2 separate regions of the Homo sapiens genome follow, and region 2 is linked to region 1. Evidence: promoter capture Hi-C in 16 types of primary human blood cells and fetal thymus (Javierre and others, 2016). All regions are on one chromosome and are shown on one strand. The core of a region is centred on a gene start or on the middle of the fragment in contact, and the rest is flanking DNA. Distances in the headings are between cores, read along the strand shown.

What was found. The method cuts DNA at HindIII sites, captures the fragments that hold promoters and counts their contacts. A CHiCAGO score of 5 or more calls a contact.
Region 2: a contact is called between a fragment that was not itself captured here and the fragment with the promoter of DUSP11 in region 1, in 1 of 17 cell types (megakaryocytes). The highest score is 5.8, in megakaryocytes.

What each region holds. Positions count from the first base shown.
Region 1 is chr2:73,777,131-73,782,370 of GRCh38, forward strand. DUSP11 (dual specificity phosphatase 11) reads right to left here and starts at 2,973. Exons shown (of 9, transcript NM_003584.3): 1 at 2,744-2,973; 2 at 1,171-1,246. The coding sequence starts at 2,844. RefSeq lists enhancers at 2,465-2,614, 2,745-2,794, 2,875-2,944. The HindIII fragment of the contact is 6,659 bases long and covers 2,641-5,240 here.
Region 2 is chr2:73,686,753-73,691,992 of GRCh38, forward strand. No RefSeq gene overlaps it. Among named protein-coding and RNA genes, the nearest start is that of NAT8, 47 kb to the left of the region's middle. The HindIII fragment of the contact is 2,755 bases long and covers 1,153-3,907 here.

The DNA.
Region 1 (5,240 bases), core at 1,723-4,222:
CCACCGCGCCTGGTTAATTTTTGTATTTTTTGTAGAGACACGGTTTCAGTGTTGCCCAGGCTGGTCTAAAACTCCTGGACTCAAGCGATACACCCACCTTGCCTCCCAAAGTACTGGATTACAAACATGATCCAACAGGCCTGGCCTGAAATGACTCATTTTTAAGCCCAGACATGCAGAGAAGCTGACACAGCAGTTGAAAAAGGAAATCTGATCTATAAGTCACAAATTAAGTAAATTCCCAAAACGTTTCAAGTAGGCTTCTCCTGATACTAATCTGAGCTATGCTGGGGAAGTCTAATAAGAAAGACATGGAATCTAGAAAACAATTATTTGTCTTCACCTTCTCATCTTTTTTATGGCTGTCAAAAGCTTTCCCCTCCTATCCCTCCTATTCCTTTCCTAGTTTAAACAAAAATACAATCTTCAGATTTTCCCCACTGAAATCCTGACCTTGATGATCCGGGGGATATTTCTGATTGTGACCATGGAAGGAAAGGAGTCCCACTGGCATTCAGTGGGTAAGGGTTACAAATTCTAAACAACTTGCCAAATTCAGGACAGTCCTACAAATGTGTCCCACATCCTGAATGGCTTTTGGATGTCCTATTCAAGATTAATATAGATAAAAAGCTGTTCATATTTAGCTTGGCCTCAGAACCTAACTCCATTTCACAAATAAACACAAAGTATTTTTTGTACAATACTAATATATATTGAATTTTCCAGGATAATAATCACCTTATCAACCAAATGAAGATTATACTTTGTTATATTTGGAAATCTATTACAGAAACTCCTACCACTAAAGCAATACAACCCACCTAGATCAGTCTACATTTGTAATTCTTGAATTCATGGCGCAGGCAACTATTACTCTATGTCTTTTAATGTAGTCATGTCCAAACATTTATATATTGAAATAAATATTATTTTATTATAAATTACTTTTATTTTATTTTTTATATTATAGTTAGGGTGTTAATTGGTATTTTTGTTTAAAATATGAAGTAGGTTGTATGTACCTATGAACTTCATTTCAGGATAGTAAAGGGGTCATTACAAAGTATTTGCTATAAAAAGAGAAAATGGAATGTGATAGAGTGGAGAGCAGTGTTCTGCATGGTGAACTCAGATGCCTGAAAGAATACTGAATTAACTTTTGCTTACCTTTTGCAAAGGAACTTTGAAAGCAATGAAACGAGTCCCAGGCATCCGCTGTCCAACTGGGAGATAGTCTTTCCACCTATTAGATATATTTTTTGTTAGCCAAATTGTATGTTAGCCTTGTTTCCTTGCACAAAATAAGACTTTTTGAAAATGGGAATCATAGCCCGCACAACATGTCCTCTCTCCTCTCTGCTTTGCATTTCGCCACTCCACTTATTAAACCCCACCAAGTAACGACCTATACCGTCCTTCTCTCCTGTTTCCCCATCATAAAAACGAACACAAGCCAACACAACAGTACAACTCAAATAAGGCCTATATAAAACCGGAGATACCCAGAACTTCTGTATCCCTGTTAAACTTGGCCCAGTACCAGATACTAAAGTGCCATTAATACAAACATATTCACTGAAATAATTTAAATTCAATTATTTCACTTCACGCTTTTAGTTTTCATACGACTGATGCCATAAAGTTCAATTAGTAGGAAACTTCAAGTTCATATTTTAAGAGAAAACCTGCTAGAAGAGGGACTGTGAACTTCACTTAATAATGCTAGGAACTGGCCGGGCGCGGTGGCTCACGTCTGTTAATCCCGGCAATTTGGGAGGCTGAGGCAGGTGGATCACCTGAGGTCAGGAGTTCGAGACCAGCCTGACCCACATGGTGAAACCCCATCTCTACTAAAAATACAAAAAAAATTAGCCGGGTGTGGTGGCGGGCGCCTGTAATCCCAGCAACTTGGGCGGCTGAGGGAGGAGAATCGCTTGAATCCGGGAGGCGGAGGTTGCAGTGAGCCGAGATTGGACCATTGCACTCCAGCCTGGCGGAGAAGAGCAAAAATCCATCCCAAAAACAAAAACAAAAAAACGGATTGGAAGAAAACAAACAGGAGATTCACTAATTAGAACCCCACTGCAATAAGTCAGGCAAGACCTGTATTAGGGTACTGACAGAAAGTGACAGTCAAAAGATAGTAGATAAAATGAAGAGGATTTATTGAGGTATGAGATGGTGGAGGATGGTCTCAAGGAGTAAAAACAGTTCAATGCACCTACGTGCAAAGTCTCAAAATTAATCATTTGTACGTATAAAGGAGTTATCTTTCAAATGAGGCCTGTTAGGAAGTAACAAAGTATGCTCTTTGTGATTTCTGGAAACAATACAAACCAACTTTCCATGTGAGATCTCAGGGCGCTACTACTGCTGGGTTCCTAACTCAAACCATTACACTTTCCGTGCCAACGTAACAAGGAATTGAGGAGGTTCCATTTTGGGAATTAAGGAGTGTCCCCAACAGTAACAGTCCCACCTTAAAGCAATCCTTCCGTATTTTACCTAAGAGCAATGGCCAGAACCTCCCTTTTACAAGAATATGGAGAAATCACAGGACATCACAGACATCGCCCCTTTCAGCTACAGCGGGTGGCGCAGAGGGTCAAAGCCTCAAAGCAAGCGGCGGACAAGTCAAGCTTGCGATGGCAACGGCGAGAGGCAGAGACCACAAACGATGAAGCCCAGACCCAGAAGCCACGAGCTGGAAAGGCCACGCCAAGGGACCAAGACATACTACCTTTCGGGGATGTGGTTTCCGCCCTTCTTCTTGGCTGAGGAGCGTCCTGAAAAGTCGCGTCTCCGGCCCCAGCCACTGCGGGGATGATGCCACTGGCTCATGTGGGTCCCAAGAAGCCGCCCACCCAATGCCAAGTCGGCCAAAAGCGCCAGTCCGGCGCCCTCAATGCCAGGATAAGACCCTAAACAGGAAAAGACTCGGCAGCCACCTACGCCGCGCTCCAGCGTCTCGCTATTGCGCATGTGCCACCGCCGGTCGTGATGGCGTAGCCACGCTGGCTTACTGAGACTCCTGATCTGTAAACAGGACTTTGGTGGCTACAGCGCCCTCTTTAGCCAGAGGCCAGTAGCACAGGTCAATAAGGGCGTGTATGCACCCTTCAGAATTCAAACAGTGAGGCACAGGGAAGTCCCTCTGCCCGATCCGCCCCACGCCCCGGTTCCTTGTGTGTTCTTCTAGATATTTACCAGCGCTTACATTCACATTTTGCATATTTTGTATACATATTTACTTTCACATATATGTATATCCTCTATTTTTATACAAAAGGAGTAACTGTACATATTCTACAGTATACCTTAAACACTGATTATCCCAGTCAATTTATGCATACATAGATTCTATTTTTAATGGCTATAGGCAATTTACTTGCTTATGAGTAACATAATTAAAAGTACCATAACGTATTTAGCCAGTTCAATATTAATGGACCTTTAGTTGTTTTCAGGTTCTTTTCAAATCTTGTTACAGACAATGCTGCAATGTGAACATCCTTATACATATATACAACTATATCTAAATTCCTAGAAGTAGAATGTCTGGAATGAAACACATACAAACTTAAAATTTGGAAAGATACTACCTAATTACCCTCCAAAAATAATGTAGAAACATACACTCCCATCAAAGCCAAACTTTTATTGGGTTCCTATCACATACCAGGTATCATGCTAGAGGTGGACAGAATGTATTTAAGTTTTAGCAAATACAAAAAATAACTGAGAGTGGAGCTCAAGTCCAAGGTTTCCACACAGTCTCAAGCATAAAGATCTGTACCCGTTAGAAAAACGTTCAATTCTGCTAAAAGTGGAACTACAAAGGACAGCATACCCTATAGCAGCTTTGAAAATAGAATAGAGTACTAAATTCCAGATTAAACTGTAAGTAATTATGATTGCAGACTTTTTTTTTTTTTTTTTGAGACCCAGTCTCACTCTGCCACCAGGCTGGAGTGCAGTGGTGCCATCTCAGCTCACTGCAACCTCCGCCTCCCGGGTTCAAGCAATTCTCCCTGCCTCAACCTCCTGAGTAGCTGGGACTACAGGTGCATGCCACGACTCCCAGCCAATTTTTTGTATTTTAGTAGAGACAGGGTTTCTCCATGTTGGCCAGGATGGTCTCGATGTCTTGACCTCATGATCAGCACTCCTCGACCTCCGAAAGTGCTGGGATTACAGGCTTGAGCCACCGCACCTGGCCAATGGCAGATTTTTGAAAGTAATTTTTACTTCTTAGTTTCTAATTTATGAAAGTAACTTACATATATTTTTAGTAATCTTTGCAACCATTTCAGAGCTGGGTAAACCAAGGATAAGAAAGGTCAGAGCTATTGAATAAATGAATATTAATAAAGCTAGACTGCTAGCTTTATTAACATTTTTGAGACAGTACTTTTCCAACCAGTTTTAAATACATAAACATTTACAATTCTGAAAATTTCCACATCATTAAAAATGTGTCAATATTCATAAATTGTTCATTGGAAAAAGAAAAAGACAGGATAGCAGAACATAACAAACCTACAATTAGGAACATTTAATTATTTGTTGTTGTTGTTGTTGAGATGGAGTCTCTCTCTGTCACCCAGGCTAGAGTGCAGTGGCGCGATCTCAGCTCACTGCAACCTCTGCCTCCTGGGTTCAAGCAATTCTCCTGCCTCAGCCTCTTGAGTAGCTGCGACTACAGGCGTGTGCCACCATGCCCGGCTAATTTTTGTATTTTTAGTAAAGACAAGGTTTCACCAAGTTGGCCAGGCTGGTCTTGAACTCCTGACCTCAAGTCATCTGCTCTCTTCGGCCTCCCAAAGTGCTGGGATGACAGGCGTGAGCCCCTGCGCCCAGCCCACATTCAAATTTGACATTAAATTGTAAAATATTGTGGCCGGGCATGGTGGCTCATGCCTGTAATTCCAGCACTTTGGGAGGCCGAGGCGGGCAGGTCACTTGAGGTCAGGAGTTAGAGATCAACCTGGCCAACATGGTAAAATCCTATCTCTACTAAAAATACAGAAATTAGCTGGGCGTGGTGGCTCATACCTGTAGTCCAGGGTACTTGGGAGGCTGAGGCAGGAGAATGGCTTGAACATGGGAGGCGGAGGTTGCAGTGAGCCAAGATTGTGCCATTGCACTCCAGCCTGGGCAACAGAGCGAGACTCTGTATCACGAAATAAATAAATAAATAATACAATGTTTTTCTGAAATGCATGAAAAATTCCAAT
Region 2 (5,240 bases), core at 1,280-3,779, 91 kb before region 1:
TTTTGGTGTCAGATCTCACAGCAGAATTTCTTACCTATTATATCCAGTGCCTCAGTGCGAAGTTCCAGTTTAACTTCCTGTTACCTCGAGCCCACTATCTTGCCCCAATAATACCCTCCCCCAATTCACAAACACAGACGCATTCCCTCCTACAGCTTTGGGCCTCCTATCTGAGTCCTTCAGGAAAGAAGAGCTTGTAACTCCCTTAGCAGTGAGTGTAGACTTGGTCCAAGGAAGATGAGCACCAGTCAGGGCAGCTGGCCCCTCCTCTCTCCCTGGTCTTCAGCAAATCAGCACTGCCCATCGATGCCCAGGCAATGGGAGCGTCGACCAGCAGAGGACACACCTGAATTTCTCTGCCTCATGGGAGGGCGGCCACTGTGTTGCATTTAGGAAGAAGCTGTGCAAGATTCATACTGTTTTGCTAATGTTAATCTTGTGGGCATAATAAACGTCGTACCCACACTTAACTTTCGAGATCAGACAAGATTGGGTGTGTTCAGGGTGGTATGGCCGTAGACCCCACACTTATTTTTAACACACTTCTAGGCAAGGCTGCTGCACTGGTCTGGGGATCACACTTTGAGTAGCAAAGGACTAAATTGCAATAACTGCCGGGGGGGGAGAAAAAAAAACAGGATGAACTGCTTCCTCCTGGCTCAGCAGCTAGGGAGTCACTGAACTAACAAGGGGATGGGGTGGGGATAAGAATGTTCCAGGCAAAAGGAACAACATGCCCAAAGGCCTCAAGCAGAAAGAGAGCTTCAGGTATTGAAGAAGTAGAAGTAGCTCTGTGTGGCTGGGGAGTGGGCATAAGATGGAGCAGAAGAATGCCAAGTCCTATTCCTGGGTCTGAATTTCCAGGAGCAGAAGCCCTGTCCCCTCTAGAAGGTGGATATAGTCTGGATATTTGTCTTCTTCAAATCTCATGTTGAAATGTGACCCCCAGTGTTGGAGGTTGGACCTAGTAGGAGGTGTTTAGGTCATAAGAAGTGGATCCCTCCCGAATGGTTTGGTGCCCTCCTCATGACTGAGTTGTTACTCTATTAGTTCGTGTGAGAGCTGGTTGTTTAAAAAAGCCTGGCATCTCTCTGGTTCCCTCTCTTGCCATGTGACACAACTGCTCCCCCTTCACCCTTCCCCATGAGTAAAAGCTTCCTGAGGCCCTCACCAGAGGCATATGCCAGCCCTGTGATTCTTGTACAGCCTGAAAAACTGTGAGTCAAATAAACATCTTTTCATTATAAATTACCTAGTCTCAGATATTTCTTTATAGCAACGCAAAATAGACTATCACAGAAAGTCGGTACCGAGGAGTAGGGCGTTGCTATAAAGATATCTGAAAATGTGGAAGTGGCTTTGGAACTGGGTATGAGGCAGCGGTTGGAAGAGTCTGGAGGGCCCAGAAGACAGAAAGATGAGAAAAGGTTTGGACCTTCTTAGAGATTTGTAATGTCGTTGTAACCAAAATGTGGACAGAAATATGTACAGTAAAGGCCAGCCTGATGAGGTCTCAGATGGAAATGAGGAAGTTATGGGGAACTGGAGCAAAGGTCACCCTTGTTAAGCCCTAGCAAAGAACTTGGCTGCATTGTATCTATGTCCTAGGGCTTTGTGGAAGGCTGAACTTAAGAGTAATGACTTAGGGTATCTGGTAGAAGAAATGTCTAAGCAGCAAAGCATTCAAGAAATGGCCTGGCTGCTTCTAATAGCCTATGATCAGATATTGGAGCAAAGGACTGACTTAAATTTGGAACTATTAAATCAAACTAAAATCTGGCCTGAGAAAGCCTCCTCACTCCCATACTTGAGTCCTTAAGGATGAACCATAACCTAACTTTGTAGGTAGGCCAACTGAAAACCTAACTTAGAAGGATGCTTCTGTAGCAATAGCTGAGCGTCAGCCAATCGCAGCAGCCATGCTTCAGTGACTCACAGGCAGCCTATTGTTCAAACCATGTTCAAATAAGGCAAACACCATGCTGTAACCAATTTGGCTATTTCTGTACCTCACTTCGGCTTTCTGCGTGTCACTTTACTTTTTCTATTCATAAGGTTTTTTCCGACCACATAGCATCTCTGGTGTTGCTCTGAATCTGCTGTGATTCTAGGGACTGCCTGATTTGTGAATTGTCTTTTTTTTTTTCTTCAAAATTAAATTCTGTTAAATTTAGTTTGTCTAAGGTTTTTCTTTTACCAGATCTGGTGTTGGAAGTGCAATTTGAAGTAAAACTCTGGTGACCTCCAGGAACACCAGGTGACCAGGCCAGTTGTGCTCACTGATCTCTTGATTGTAACTGGAGGTTGTAGATGCGTTTTCTCTTGGATTCAGAGCTCCACTAATGTGTATTCTAATTGAAGCTCTCCAACTTTACTGGAGCGATATTAAAGTGGACTGGGTTCAGGATCAAATTTGAATCAATAATTAACTGGATTAGGTTCCGTTAGAGCCTCAGACCTATACTAGGCACTTTTTTTTTTTTTTTTTTTTTGATAATGGGTTTGTCTCAATCCAAAGATTCTGGGACTCTACCTTCTGGGACTCCATCTAATTTGATATGTAAAATTATGGACCCAGAATATGTGCATTTTTAGAAAAATAGATTAACCTTACTAGAGAAAAGATGGCCACAATGGGGAAGTTTTAATTTGTATAAAATTGTTTATTTGCATGGCATATTAGAAAAAGGGGGTCAAAACCCCACAAAAACAGTGGGATATAGTCTTTCATTGGTACATGGAAGCCTCTAAAAGACAAAATGAATGAAAACTTGCCTCCTTAAAAGATTCTTCGCAAAAGCAAGTGAACAGCTTAAGTAACAGGCTAAGGACATGATGAAAGAGAACTGTACTCTGACTGAACTAACCCCAACTGATTCTTCTCTTTATGCATCTCTACCTACGTACTCTGAGTCTACTAACCTTTTTACTAAATTGACCTTTCACTCTCAAGATGATGAAAAAAGAGGAATTAGATGTACGCCTCACAAAGGAAGACCTTCTGATTATCCAGGCCTGCCTGCTATAACCACTTTCACTCCATGGTCTAAAACTGAGCTTAGAGCTATTGTAGAAGACTTCCCTGATCTAGGAGAGAATCCTCAAAAATTGACTGAGGAGTGTAGAATCCTCATAGGAGATTATGATCCAGGACTCCCTGACAAAGGTTCATATAAATTTATTCATATGATATGGAGGCCTGGTGAAGCTCAAAAATGGATGGCAGCAGCAGAATGGAACAAACCGGAGGAAGATATTAAAGACTCTGCCCCTACTGCCCGCCCCCACAAAACTTCCTCATGAGAAGGCCCAACAGGAGCTAGAAATATTGCTGCAAATCCCAGCCTGGGCAACATGGCAAAACCCTGTCTATACGAAAAATACAGAAAGTTAGCTGGGCATGATGGCACACGCCTGTAGACCCAGCTACTTATGAGGCTGAAGTGGGAGGATCACCTGAGCCTGGGAGCTTGAGGCTACTGTGAGCCATGACTGTGCCACTGCACTCTAGCCTGGGTAGCAGAGCGAGACCCCATCTCAAAAGAAAAGAAGGAAAAAAAAATTGCTGAAAATCTTTTAAATTCAAGTGCTAAAATTTTTCCGCAAAAGTTGATTGGTACATCATACAATATTGTAAACCAAAAAAAGAATGAACCAGTGTCAGATTACAGAACTTGCTTAGAAATAATGTGAAACATTCTGGGCTCAGAGTACCAGCAAGGAGTATTTCCTGCAGGGACTGAAATGGTATTAACTACTCTATTTATAAAGGGACTTCATCCTGAACTTAGAAATTTAATTAGAAAACATAAACTCGGATGGGAAGTTACAGCCATGACTGAATTGGTGGCTCTAGCTGAACATTTTGAGAGGACTGTAGAGCAAGAAAAAACCCAAAAGGCTAACAAGCTTATGACTGTTCAATTACAACAGTTACAGGGGCCAAGACCAAAGGGATCTTCTCATTCTCATTTTAAATCACAACCAAGAGGTATTAGACCAAGAAATTCTTCACCCTAAGATGTCTGCCTTATTGCAAACAACCAGGACAGTGGAATAGGGATTGTGCCCTTTTATACCAGCCCACCAATGACCCTCCCTTTAGGCCAGCCTGTTTCACCACTAGAGGGAGCACAAGAGACCTTAGCTCTCCTGAAGATAATCAGCATTGAAGCGGCTCTGAGGGATTTCCCAGTATATTGCTCCTCATAACACCCTTAAAAGAATATGGAGAAACAGAGGTTACAATAAATGGGGACTCATGTATAGTCTTGGTGGATACCAGAGCTACCTTATCTGCCACTACCGTAAAACACACTTTCATACGCCAACAGATCCCTCAGAGTTAAAAAGGCTATTTCTGTGGTTGGGGTTTCAAATCAAATTCAAGAGGTTCCCATATCTGAACCCGTCCAATTGACTTTGGGGCACTCTTCAGAAAATCACACTTTTTTACTGTATGATAGTGCTCCAGTAAATTTGCTAGAGGGAGATTTACTTTCAAAGCTGAAAGGGCATAGAAGACTACCTATTGGGTACATTGTACACTGCTTGGGAAATGGGCACACTAAAATCTCAGAACTCACCAGTAAAGAACTTGTCCATGTAACCAAAAACCACCTGTACTCCCAAAACAATTGAAATTGTTTAAATTAAAAAATTTTTAAAAGTGGGGAGGATGTAAAATTTTCCTTAGAAGGAGTAAGAATCAGTTTCCTGATTCTCCTGAACCAGAATTGTTATGCTCTCTATAGGCAGAAATTAATAAGATTGAAACTCAGGCCTGTAATGCCTGATCTTCCAAAAATACATGAATGTTTATGGGTCTCTTCCTCAACTGACACAGGAAGAATTTAAAGTGTGGAACTTATAAAAGTCCAAATAGACCACTCTAAACTTTTGCCTAAATTACCCAATATCCACTAAAACTAGAAGCAATTCAAGGGCTCTCGCCAATTATAGAAGATTTAATTAAACAGGGACTTATAATTCTATGCACCAGCCGTTGTAACACTCCAATCCTACTGGTTAAAAAAAAAATGGATGAGGTTGAAGATTTATTCAAGATTTATGGGCAGTTAACAAAATTGTAGTAGCAAGGTTTCCTATAGTCCCAAATCCTAATACTTTATTATCCAGTATACATGCTGATTCTTAAGTGGTTCACAATATTAGATCTCTGCTCAGCCTCTTTTTGCAATCCAATTCGTAAAGAGAGTCAATGCTTATTTGCCTTCACT